Linked DNA regions of Homo sapiens: region 2 is linked to region 1. Evidence: promoter capture Hi-C in 16 types of primary human blood cells and fetal thymus (Javierre and others, 2016). All regions are on one chromosome and are shown on one strand. The core of a region is centred on a gene start or on the middle of the fragment in contact, and the rest is flanking DNA. Distances in the headings are between cores, read along the strand shown.

What was found. The method cuts DNA at HindIII sites, captures the fragments that hold promoters and counts their contacts. A CHiCAGO score of 5 or more calls a contact.
Region 2: a contact is called between a fragment that was not itself captured here and the fragment with the promoter of OGFOD2 in region 1, in 1 of 17 cell types (fetal thymus). The highest score is 5.0, in fetal thymus.

The regions. Positions count from the first base shown.
Region 1 is chr12:122,973,614-122,976,691 of GRCh38, reverse strand. It overlaps OGFOD2 (2-oxoglutarate and iron dependent oxygenase domain containing 2), which reads right to left and starts at 1,448. Exons shown (of 7, transcript NM_001304833.2): 1 at 1,309-1,448; 2 at 825-881; 3 at 1-38. The coding sequence starts at 1,440. It also overlaps a transcript of ABCB9 not described here. RefSeq lists an enhancer at 1,544-2,003. The HindIII fragment of the contact is 5,440 bases long and covers 523-3,078 here.
Region 2 is chr12:123,385,212-123,391,614 of GRCh38, reverse strand. It overlaps KMT5A (lysine methyltransferase 5A), which reads right to left. Exons shown (of 8, transcript NM_020382.7): 2 at 2,061-2,182; 3 at 829-985. Among named protein-coding and RNA genes, the nearest start is that of KMT5A, 4.3 kb to the right of the region's middle. RefSeq lists silencers at 1,952-2,061, 2,482-2,841. The HindIII fragment of the contact is 6,467 bases long and covers 826-6,403 here.

The DNA.
Region 1 (3,078 bases), core at 199-2,698:
TGCCCCAGCCGCTGCCGCCGCTCCACCTCCTGCTCAAGCTGGGGTGGCACAGGGTTGTTACCAGGTGGGGCCTCCCATCCTCCTGAGGCCACTGTACAGATGAAGAAACTGAAGCCCAGAACGCCAGACAGGGCCCAGGCTGGAAGCCAAGTCTAGCCTACACTCCTGAATCTATCTGGGTCAACTGCAAGTTCCAGACTGTTAGCTGAAAGGGACTTCTAGAAGGGGACCCATCCTGTTTCAGGCTGCCCCAACCTGAGCCTAGCTGGGATGAGAACCCCTAGATGTACCTCAACCATCTGGGCCCACACAGGGACAGGAGACAGTCATGGCCAAGTCCTGTGTTCCAGAGGTTGCTGAGGACTCTCCTGGGAAGCTTCCCACCACTGACTCCAGGGGAAGGAGGAGGAGGGAGTGGGGCAGCAGCCCTGGCAGCAGCCTGCGGGGTATATGGTAAGGTGTGAGGAGCCCAGGGGCCTGGAAGCTGTGGCTGGGATCACATCTGCTCCTGCTGTAAAAGCTTGGGCAAGGGATCCCTCTTTAAGCCTCAGCTTCTCAATCCAAAATGAGAGTGGTGCTTGTGCTTATCTCACAGAGCTGTTAAGAACGGCATGACTAGGCAACTTAGCAACTTAGCATTTCCCCTTCTCTCTCCTGGTGCCAAGACTCAGGTGTGGAGGGATGAGTGGGGGGCAGGAAGGAGGAAAGTGAGGGCCTAAGTGACCCTTCAGGGATCAGGGACTGAGGCTAGGCTCAAGCTGTGTCCTCAAGCTGCGGACACAAATCTAACGAGGAGGAGCTGTGCAGGGGCAGGGGACTGGTACCTCTGCTAACAGCTGCTGGAAGTCCTTGGCGCTAACACAGCCTCGGCTGCGCAGGATCTGGGAGCAGAAAGAACACTGAGCATGACTGTATGACCTGAGGAAATCCCTTCACTCTCTAAGCCTCAGTTTCCCCTGCTTAAAATGGGGAGAGGAGCCCCGACCTCAAAGGATCATGGAGAGAATGAACTGCGGAACCCTGTCAAGCTCAGGACAGGGCTCCGGGCTGGTGTTGCTGTGAGGCGGCAAGCTGAGCCCGGCCCTGTCCTAAGCACCCTACATGCTTGTTCATTCCTTCCTCACAATCTCACAGGGAGATACTATTACCCCTTTACGGTGAGAAAACCGAGGCAGAGAGAGGCCGTCATTCTTGTATTTGAAGATACGGTGCGCGGCGTGCGCAAAGCAAACGACCCTGGGGACGAACTTCCCTCCTCCACTACCCCTCTCTGCCCACTGCTCCGTAGGGACGACAGCGGCCACTCACCGGGCCGTAGTCCCGGCGCAGCTGCTGCTCGCCTCGGAAGCGCACGTGCAGCCCATAGCGCGCCACGTACAAGTTATCGGTGCAGAAGCAGGCGCAGCGGCAGAAGTGCCGCGGAGCCCCCACCGTCGCCATAGTGAAGCACCCACAGCCCTACCAGCTTCCGTAGAGAGACTTCGGGCACGCCCCCAACCGCGGGAGGCGCGGAACCAGCGGCCAAGGGGCCGCTCTAAGTTCCCAAGGGCGGAAAAGGACGAAGACGCACCTCGCCAGGAAACGGTCTGCGGAGAAAGATGCTCCTGGGCCGGGTTGGGACCGGCGGCCTCCTCGTTCCGCCTCCCAGTTTTCCCACTACGAGGCAGGGACTAATGGCTCCACTTTACAGACAGCTGAACTGGGTCGTGCCTTCACAGGACGGGGAGAGGAAGGGACTCGGAGCCCCAAGGCCTTTGACTTAAACGCCGACCCACCCCCCGCCGTCTGCCCGGAGCTCGTGGAGAACCAGCCGAGCTGAGGACAGTTTAAAGAGCTCGGAGGTCCGACTAGTTCCCGCTGGTGCTTCAATCATCCAGCCCTGTACGTTTCAGTTTGGATTTAGCATCTACCCCGGGTCCCTGCCTGGCGCTTCCGGTCCCTCCGCCACAGTCTGTTGGATTACCTCAGATTGCCCCAGTGAGTGTCTCCACCAAAACGCTCCGTCTCGCATTACTTCCGGTGGCGTTCCCAATGGACGCGGGAGGGCGGGGTCAGGTGTGGGAGGGCGACGGGGCGTGGTCTCACCGCAGCCAACAAATGACAACTCTTGCAGACCGAGCCTCTTCTCTCCCCGGACCTTTGCTCAGGAATCTACCAGCATTAAACCTTTGAGCTAGGTACTATTATATCACCGTCTTACAGATGAGGAAACTGAGACCCAGAGAGGCACAGGGACCCGCCGCAGGTCACACATCCAGTAAGGGGCAAATATGGCGTTTGAACCCTACAGAGTTCCCCAGTTAACCACCACAGGGCTTCTGGGAGTGGTGGAAGTATGTGGGATTTGGGGTTTTCTCGTGCAGAGCTGCCCGGCCCGAGAAGGTGTTTAACGTTTTACAGTCGTCTTGATTGCCCAGTGATAGTGAGAGGCCCTGCTATCTAGGAAAGGATCCATTTCCCCAGATCAATGTTCATTACCCGCCTAACTGCCCTTTTTCCCCAGGAGGCCCAGGGCAGGTCGGCTCCCCAGCCACCCACCAGGCAGGCCTGGCACATGCAGCACCCCACCCCACCCTCACCCCCTCTCCGTTTGCAGCAGTTTGCAAGATGAGTGTGTTGTACCTATCAGTTTATTTATTTGTTTATTTACTTTTTGAGATAGAGTTTCACCCAGGCTGGAGTGCAGTGGCGCGATCTCCGCTCACTGCAACCTCTGCCTCCCGGATTCAAGCAGTTTTCCTGCCTCAGCCTCCCGAATAGCTGGGATTATCGGCAGGCGCCACCACGCCCAGCTAATTTTTTTGTTTTTTGTTTGTTTGTTTGTTTGTTTTGAGACGGAGTCTTGCTCTGTCGCCCAGGCTGGAGTGCAGTGGCACGATCTCGGCTCACTGTAAGCTCTGCCTCCCGGGTTCACGCCATTCTCCTGGCTCAGCCTCCCGAGTAGCTGGGACTACAGGCGCCCGCCACCACACCCGGCTAATTTTTTATGTTTTTAGTAGAGACGGGGTTTCACCGTGTTAGCCAGGATGGTCTTGATCTCCTGACCTCGTGGTCCCCCTGCCTCGGCCTCCCAAAGTT
Region 2 (6,403 bases), core at 2,810-5,309, 410 kb before region 1:
CATTAACCCTGTATTTTCGGGTTTAACATTTTAACTCCAAATCTCATTGCATAGGATGCTGCTTCAGAAACTAACACCAAATGCTTGATTGGCAGGAAACTTTAGAAATGGGGTCAAGGCAGCTAGGCGCGGTGGCTCATGCCTGTAATCCCATCATTTTGGGAGGCCAAGGCAGGTGGATCACCTGAGGTCAGGAGTTTGAGACCAGTCTAGCCAACACGGTGAAATCCCGTCTCTACCAAAAATACAAAAATTAGCTGGGCGTGGTGGCGGCCGCTTGTAATCCCAGCTACTCAGGAGGCTGCAGCAGAAGAATCGCTTGAGCCCAGGAGGCGGAGGTTGCAGTGAGCTGAGATCGTGCCATTGCACTTCAGCCTGAGGGACGAGAGCGGAAATCCGTCTCAAAAAAAGAAAAAGAAATGGGGTCAAGGCCAGCTCATAAAAGGGAAGGAAGTCAGTTCCCTACATGAACACATTAGTTAGGTCTGCAATTGCCTGGTCTGTACAACCTGAATTCATGACTTCTGCACTTTCAGCACTTGTGAGCCTCTCTAATTGTGGGTCAGGTATGTTATTTTTGCAACTAAGCAAGACAATCAAGCTTGAAGGATATGCTAACTCTTGTGAAAGCAGGGAAAACCTGTCAAACCAACAGGGCACACACCCTGGGACAAGCCATTCTTTCAGCAGCAAGACAGAACATGGCTCAAACCTCTCGAATCTGAGACTGAAAAGGTTGGATAAATACATATGTGCATTCTTGCAGAGGACAGAGGCTTCTGCAACCCGACCAGCTGGGATCAGAACGAGGCCATTTCAAAAGCTTACCTTCTCGTTTCCTGTAGATTCCGGCTAATGGTTTCCCCTGGCATTTGACTTCGTGATGTGTAACTGAGTTCTCTTCCTGAAGGGGGAAACGCATTCCAGAGCATTTGTTCGGGCTCATGTAGGAATAGATCTTTGACTGCCCGGTAAATACGTTCTCCTAAAAAGACAAAAGCATATTCTGAAAGAGGCTTGAAGAAGAAGATCCTAGAGCATTCACGAGGAGGAGGAATACAAAAGATGAAAATCAGACAACACCGTTTTTCAAAAACTGGGCTACCAGGGGATGCCAGCCCCCATTGTCTCAGGAGAGCACTGGCAGGTTTAGAATCCCAGGTCCAGTGAAACGTTTCCTAAACGCGCTGGTCTCTAAATCACTAAGGGGACAGCTGGCCAGCAGGAGAGTCGGCTGCAACCCAAGGTCTATATAGGAAGAAGACAGCCTACCCGCAACAGGGAGGTCAAAAGGACCTGGGCATGTGAAGAGCTAGGCTATCTTTAGGAGTTCACTGCCCTGGCAGGAGCCGCAGGGACTCAGCACAGAAACACGCCCCGGGGAACCTGATTAACCACTTGGTGCTGAGGGCGGCTGGAGGGCCTGTCAGCACAGCCAGAGCCCCATGAGCGCCGGAGCCTGACCCCTCTCAAATCACTGCAGCCCCGCAGCCTCCAGGGCTGCGACGGGAGGACTTCTCTCAGGGTGACTGGGGAATCTGGGAAGAGCAGGAGCCACAGCCAGCGCATTCGGGGCGGCCACTTTGTCGCAAGCCGCACCTGGGCGTCAGTAAGAGAGTGGACGGGGCGGTGGGGCGGTTCAGGTCACTGCGGGCGCCTCTGGGCGTGGGGCCCCTCCTCTGAGTAAGTACAGACGGAGGAGGGCGTCCCCAGAAGCAACGCCGGGCCCTCGCCGCCTCGGGGACCATTCAACACCGAGGCGGTGAGACCCGTGACCTCTCCGAGGGGCCCGCGCAGGCCCCGCACAGCCTGGGACCGCGGCCACCTCCGGGGAAGTAGGGTCTTGGGCTGCGGAGACGCCACGAAGGCGCAGTCAAACTTTTCCGAGGTCAAACACCGCCAGGCTCATGGCGGAGCCGTGTGGGCGCCACTCCCAGCCAGGCGGCAGCAAAGGAAGCGGCCCGGCCGGGCGCCCCGGGCGGGTACCCGGGGTCGCCCATGTGCTCGCGGCCCCGGCCCGGCGGGCGCGCCGCAGGGGTGCGGGGAGGGTGCCTGCTTACCCCGTCGGTGCGGGGCCTCCCCGGGCCCCTCCGCTCCACCATCTCCGGGCCCGGGGCCGTCGCTGCCACCGCCGCCGCCGCCGCCGCCGCCTCCACCGCGCGGGGCTTGGACATCTTCCTGCCTGGAGAAGGGGACCCGGGGGAAGCGGGGGAGGGGGCGCTCAGGGCGCGGCGGGGCGGGGAGCGGGGCCGCCCGGGCCGGGCGCCGCGACGGCGCCTCCCGCCGCAGCCATATTTCGAGGCCCCGGCTCTGGTGAGCCGCCCGCGCAGCCGGGAGGGCCGGGCCGGAGCCCGCGTCGCCCTCCCGCCGCCCGGCCCGGCCAGGCCCCGCGCGCCGCCCGCCCCCCGCGCGGCCGGGCCCGACACACCCACCTGCAGCCCGGCCAGGCCCATGGCGGCGCGCCCCGCGCCCTCGCCGCCGCCACCAGCGCCGCCGCGGCGCCCCGGGGAAGGGCCGGCGGCGCCCCACGGCGCCCCCTTCCCCCATGGCCGGCGAGGCAGGGCCCGGCACCCGCGCACCGCGGCAGCCCCGGGCCGCCCGGGGCGAGGCACGAAGGGAAGGAGGCGCAGGCGGCGCGTCCTCCGCAGCCCTCCCGCCCGCTCGCAGCCGCCCACCGTCCGGCGCCCGGCCCGGGGAGGGGGCTGGTAGGGGCGGCGCCGCCAGGCCGCTCCGGAGGGCGGGCGGGCGGGCGCGGCGAATCCCGGCTCGGGCGCGCCCCCTCTCGCGCGGCCTCAGCCACTCGCGGAGGAAGGGGTGGGAAACACCGTCATGACAGCCCAGGCTCCCGCCCGCCCTCCCGCCAGCCCGCCCGGCTCCTTTTTCCGCTGGCTCTGCGGATATTTTGGGAACCCGGTCTGTGCCAGACGAAATCAGCAGCGGTGAACGCGCCAGGCCAGGCCCTCGGGTGTGCCCGGCGCTGTGCCCACCGAGAGTTTCACAGGCATTGAATCCTCCCCGCACGCCCACGGGGGCAGGTCCTGTCGGCATCCCAGCTTACAATGGTGACACTGTGACTCAAGGGATGTGCAGGGGTTTGTCCCGGGCCACAGAACTAGGAAGTGATGGGGCCAGGTGTCAAACCCAGAAGGGCTGTACTTGACCGGTAGGAAGCCCTGGGGAGACAGAGCCAGGGGTTATAATGATCGGTTTCCTGGGCGAGTCTCTTGCCGTTATCTCACTGAAACCTCACAGCAGCCCTGCAAAGGTAGACACCATTATTATCTCTTTTCAACAGATGGAGAAAGTGAGGAGCTTGGCCAAGTTCTCAGAACTAGATGGGTTTTCAGCCCCAGCCAACTGACCCCAGGGCCTTGCCCTCCCAGCCACTACCCTTCCTGGTTACAGATGAGGAAATGGAGTTTGGGAGAAGCAAATGGTCTTGCAGAAGGGTTTAACATGTCACCTTGTTCTCCTATCCCGCCGTGAGAAAATGCCCCCATAGGCAGACGAGGTTCCCGTCACTCTGGTGGCTGTTTCAGCATAGCTCACTGCCCTGCACCACTACTCTGTGGCCATTAAGGCTTGAGGGCCCACAGCCAGATTCACTGTATTTGTGCAAAGTCATAGATGCAAACAAGACACTTCAAGGCATCCAGCTCCTGCAGCCTGGCCCATGGCCTGGGAGTCAGGGGCTGGACTTATTTCCCTGCATCTGCCCAGAGGTGTTTTGTGACCATCGCCAAGTCACTTCCCCAGTCTGGGCCTCAGTGTCCTCATGGGTAAAAACCAAGAACCTTGAATTCCATAATCCACCAGAGCACCTTCCAACATCCACAGATAAGCAAATGGCTGTTTGTAGCCATCCTCCCACCTAGCCTCCCTCGACTCCCATTGGAACGGATAAGACTGAGTAGGATTAGGTGGTGACAGGTCACTGCTCAGACAATCCCTCCCAAATCAGCTCATGCTTTAGCATCCTTCAAGGCAGGGTCTCCAGCCCAACCACTAACTCCAGTGGGCTAGGTACTCTGCCTATGCCCTCTGCAGAGCCTACTACAGTTGAATATCCAAAAGATTACCCAGAGGGTGAAAGAGGATTCGAAAGTGACACTCTGATAACCAGGTTGAGCCATTTGAAAGCGTCTTCTATTTCTGCAAGGCAGAGAAGTTTTGCAGCTTAACTGCCATGAGAATCATGGTTTTGGAGCAGGAAGCACCCACATAGATCATCTTATCCATTTCACATTCTAGTATACCGAGCCACACCCCACGCCCCACTCATGGTCATAGCTTTCTCTGCATTTGAGCCCCCAATTGCAGGGGACACATTACAAGTCTAGCACCTATTCCTCTCAATTCTGCAGCTCCAGTACCTAGAAGATGTAAATACAGATCATTCAATGTAAGTTTCAAAACAGTCCTTTCTCCGCAAGTTTATACGTATATAACAAATACACCAGCTGGGCGCAGTGGCTCACACCTGTAATCCCAGCACCTTGGGAGGCAGAGGAGGGCAAATCACCTGAAATCAGGAGTTTGAGACCAGCCTGGCCAACATGGCGAAACCCCGTCTCTACTAAAAATACAAAAATTAGCTTGGCGTGGTTGCGCATGCCTGTAATCCCAGCTACTTGGGAGGCTGAGGCAGGAGAGTCACTTGAACCCAGGGGGGTGGAGTTTGCAGTGAGCCAAGATTGTGCCACTGCACTCTATCCTGGGTGACAGAGTGAGACTCTGTCTCCCAAAAAAAAAGAAAAGTCTGTATTTTTGGAGACCCCCCCACCAGGTGCTAAGGGATAATGAACTGAAGATGGCAAAATGAGGAGGGCAACCAACCAAGAGACCATTCAACAATGGCAGTAGAAATAGTGAAAGGTAGGTGGACTGACCCCTGAGACTAATATATTGGGGTTGTAAATATTTGCATGATTATAAAACTTCAAAATGAGTGAGGTGTTGCCTGGCATCTGACCAGTTTGTTTCTGTGACCCAGCAGGGCTCTCAAAGTGAATTGCAAGTTCAAAGCCCAATTTTCTAGAAGAAAAAGACTGTTCATTTGAAGTGCTGTAAATGATTTGGTATTTACAATTCTAAATATTGGCCAGGCGTGGTGGCTTTTGCCTGTAATCCCAGCACTCTGGGAGGCCGAGGTGGGCAGATAACCTGAGGTCAGGAGTTCAAGACTAGCCTGGCCAACATGGCGAAACCCCGTCTCTACTAAAAATACAAAAATTAGCTGGGTGTGGTGACAGGTGCCTGTAATCCCAGCTACTTGGGAAGCTGAGGCACAAGAATCACTTGAACACAGGAGAGGGAGGGTGAAGCGGGCTGAAATCACTCCACTGTACTCCAGCCTGGGTGACAGAGAGAGACTCTGTCTCAAAAAAAAAAAAAAAAAAAAAAATCTAAATCTAAATATCCAATTTAATAGCTTGCAAGGGCAGTAAAGCCTAAGAAACAGGTAACTACTAATTTGGGGGTCAAGTGAGACAGTGAGAATCAATAACTAATAATTACATAGGTGATTTGTAAGCTGCCATGGGAGGAGCTGACAAACATTATCTTCGCTTTGGGTAAGTAAGGGAGGTTGGGTGGCACAAGCAAAGACCCAGCCAAGCTAGAGTCTGGACAGCAAGTTTGGACTTCACGCTTCCTCTTCCAAAAAATGAGAATAACAATTTGTAAAGATCAATTGAGTTAATAAAGTGCCTGGCCCTCAGTGGTAATTATTATTATTTTGTTATTGTTCTTGTTTGTTTTTTTGAGATGGAGTCTTGCTCTGTTGCCCATGCTGGAGTGCGGTGACGTAATCTCGGCTCACTGCAAGCTCCACCTCCCAGGTTCAGGCAATTCTCCCTGCCTCAGCCTCCCAAGTAGCTGGGATTACAGGCATGCGCTGCCATGCCCGGCTAATTTTGTATTTTTAGTAGAGACGGGATTTCTCCATGTTGGTCAGACTGGTCTCGAACTCCCGACCTCAGGTGATCTGCCCGCCTTGGCCTCCCAAAGTGCTAGGATTACAGGTGTGAGCCACCATGCCTGGCCATAATTATTATTTAGTCATATTTTAAGTATTTCAATGATAGATGGTTAGTTTTCTTCATATATTAATTAATGCACTACTTTTAAAACAAGTAGTTTAAATGATTTTGCTGTGATGAGAAAAATGAACCCAGGAAGCATAGTTTTATTAAAATTTGTCAGATAAATTAGTCAGATAATGTTAAATATACTTTTAGATGCTTAACACTTTTCAAAGGAAAAATATTAGTATTAATTTTCTCCAAGAGTTGAGTGATGAAGCTCTTTAACCTGAAGTTTACTATGCCTCATTTTTTCATCAGGCTCTGGGTAAGTCTTATCCCAAAAGAACCTCTAGGGATGCTAGGAGAATAGATGATGC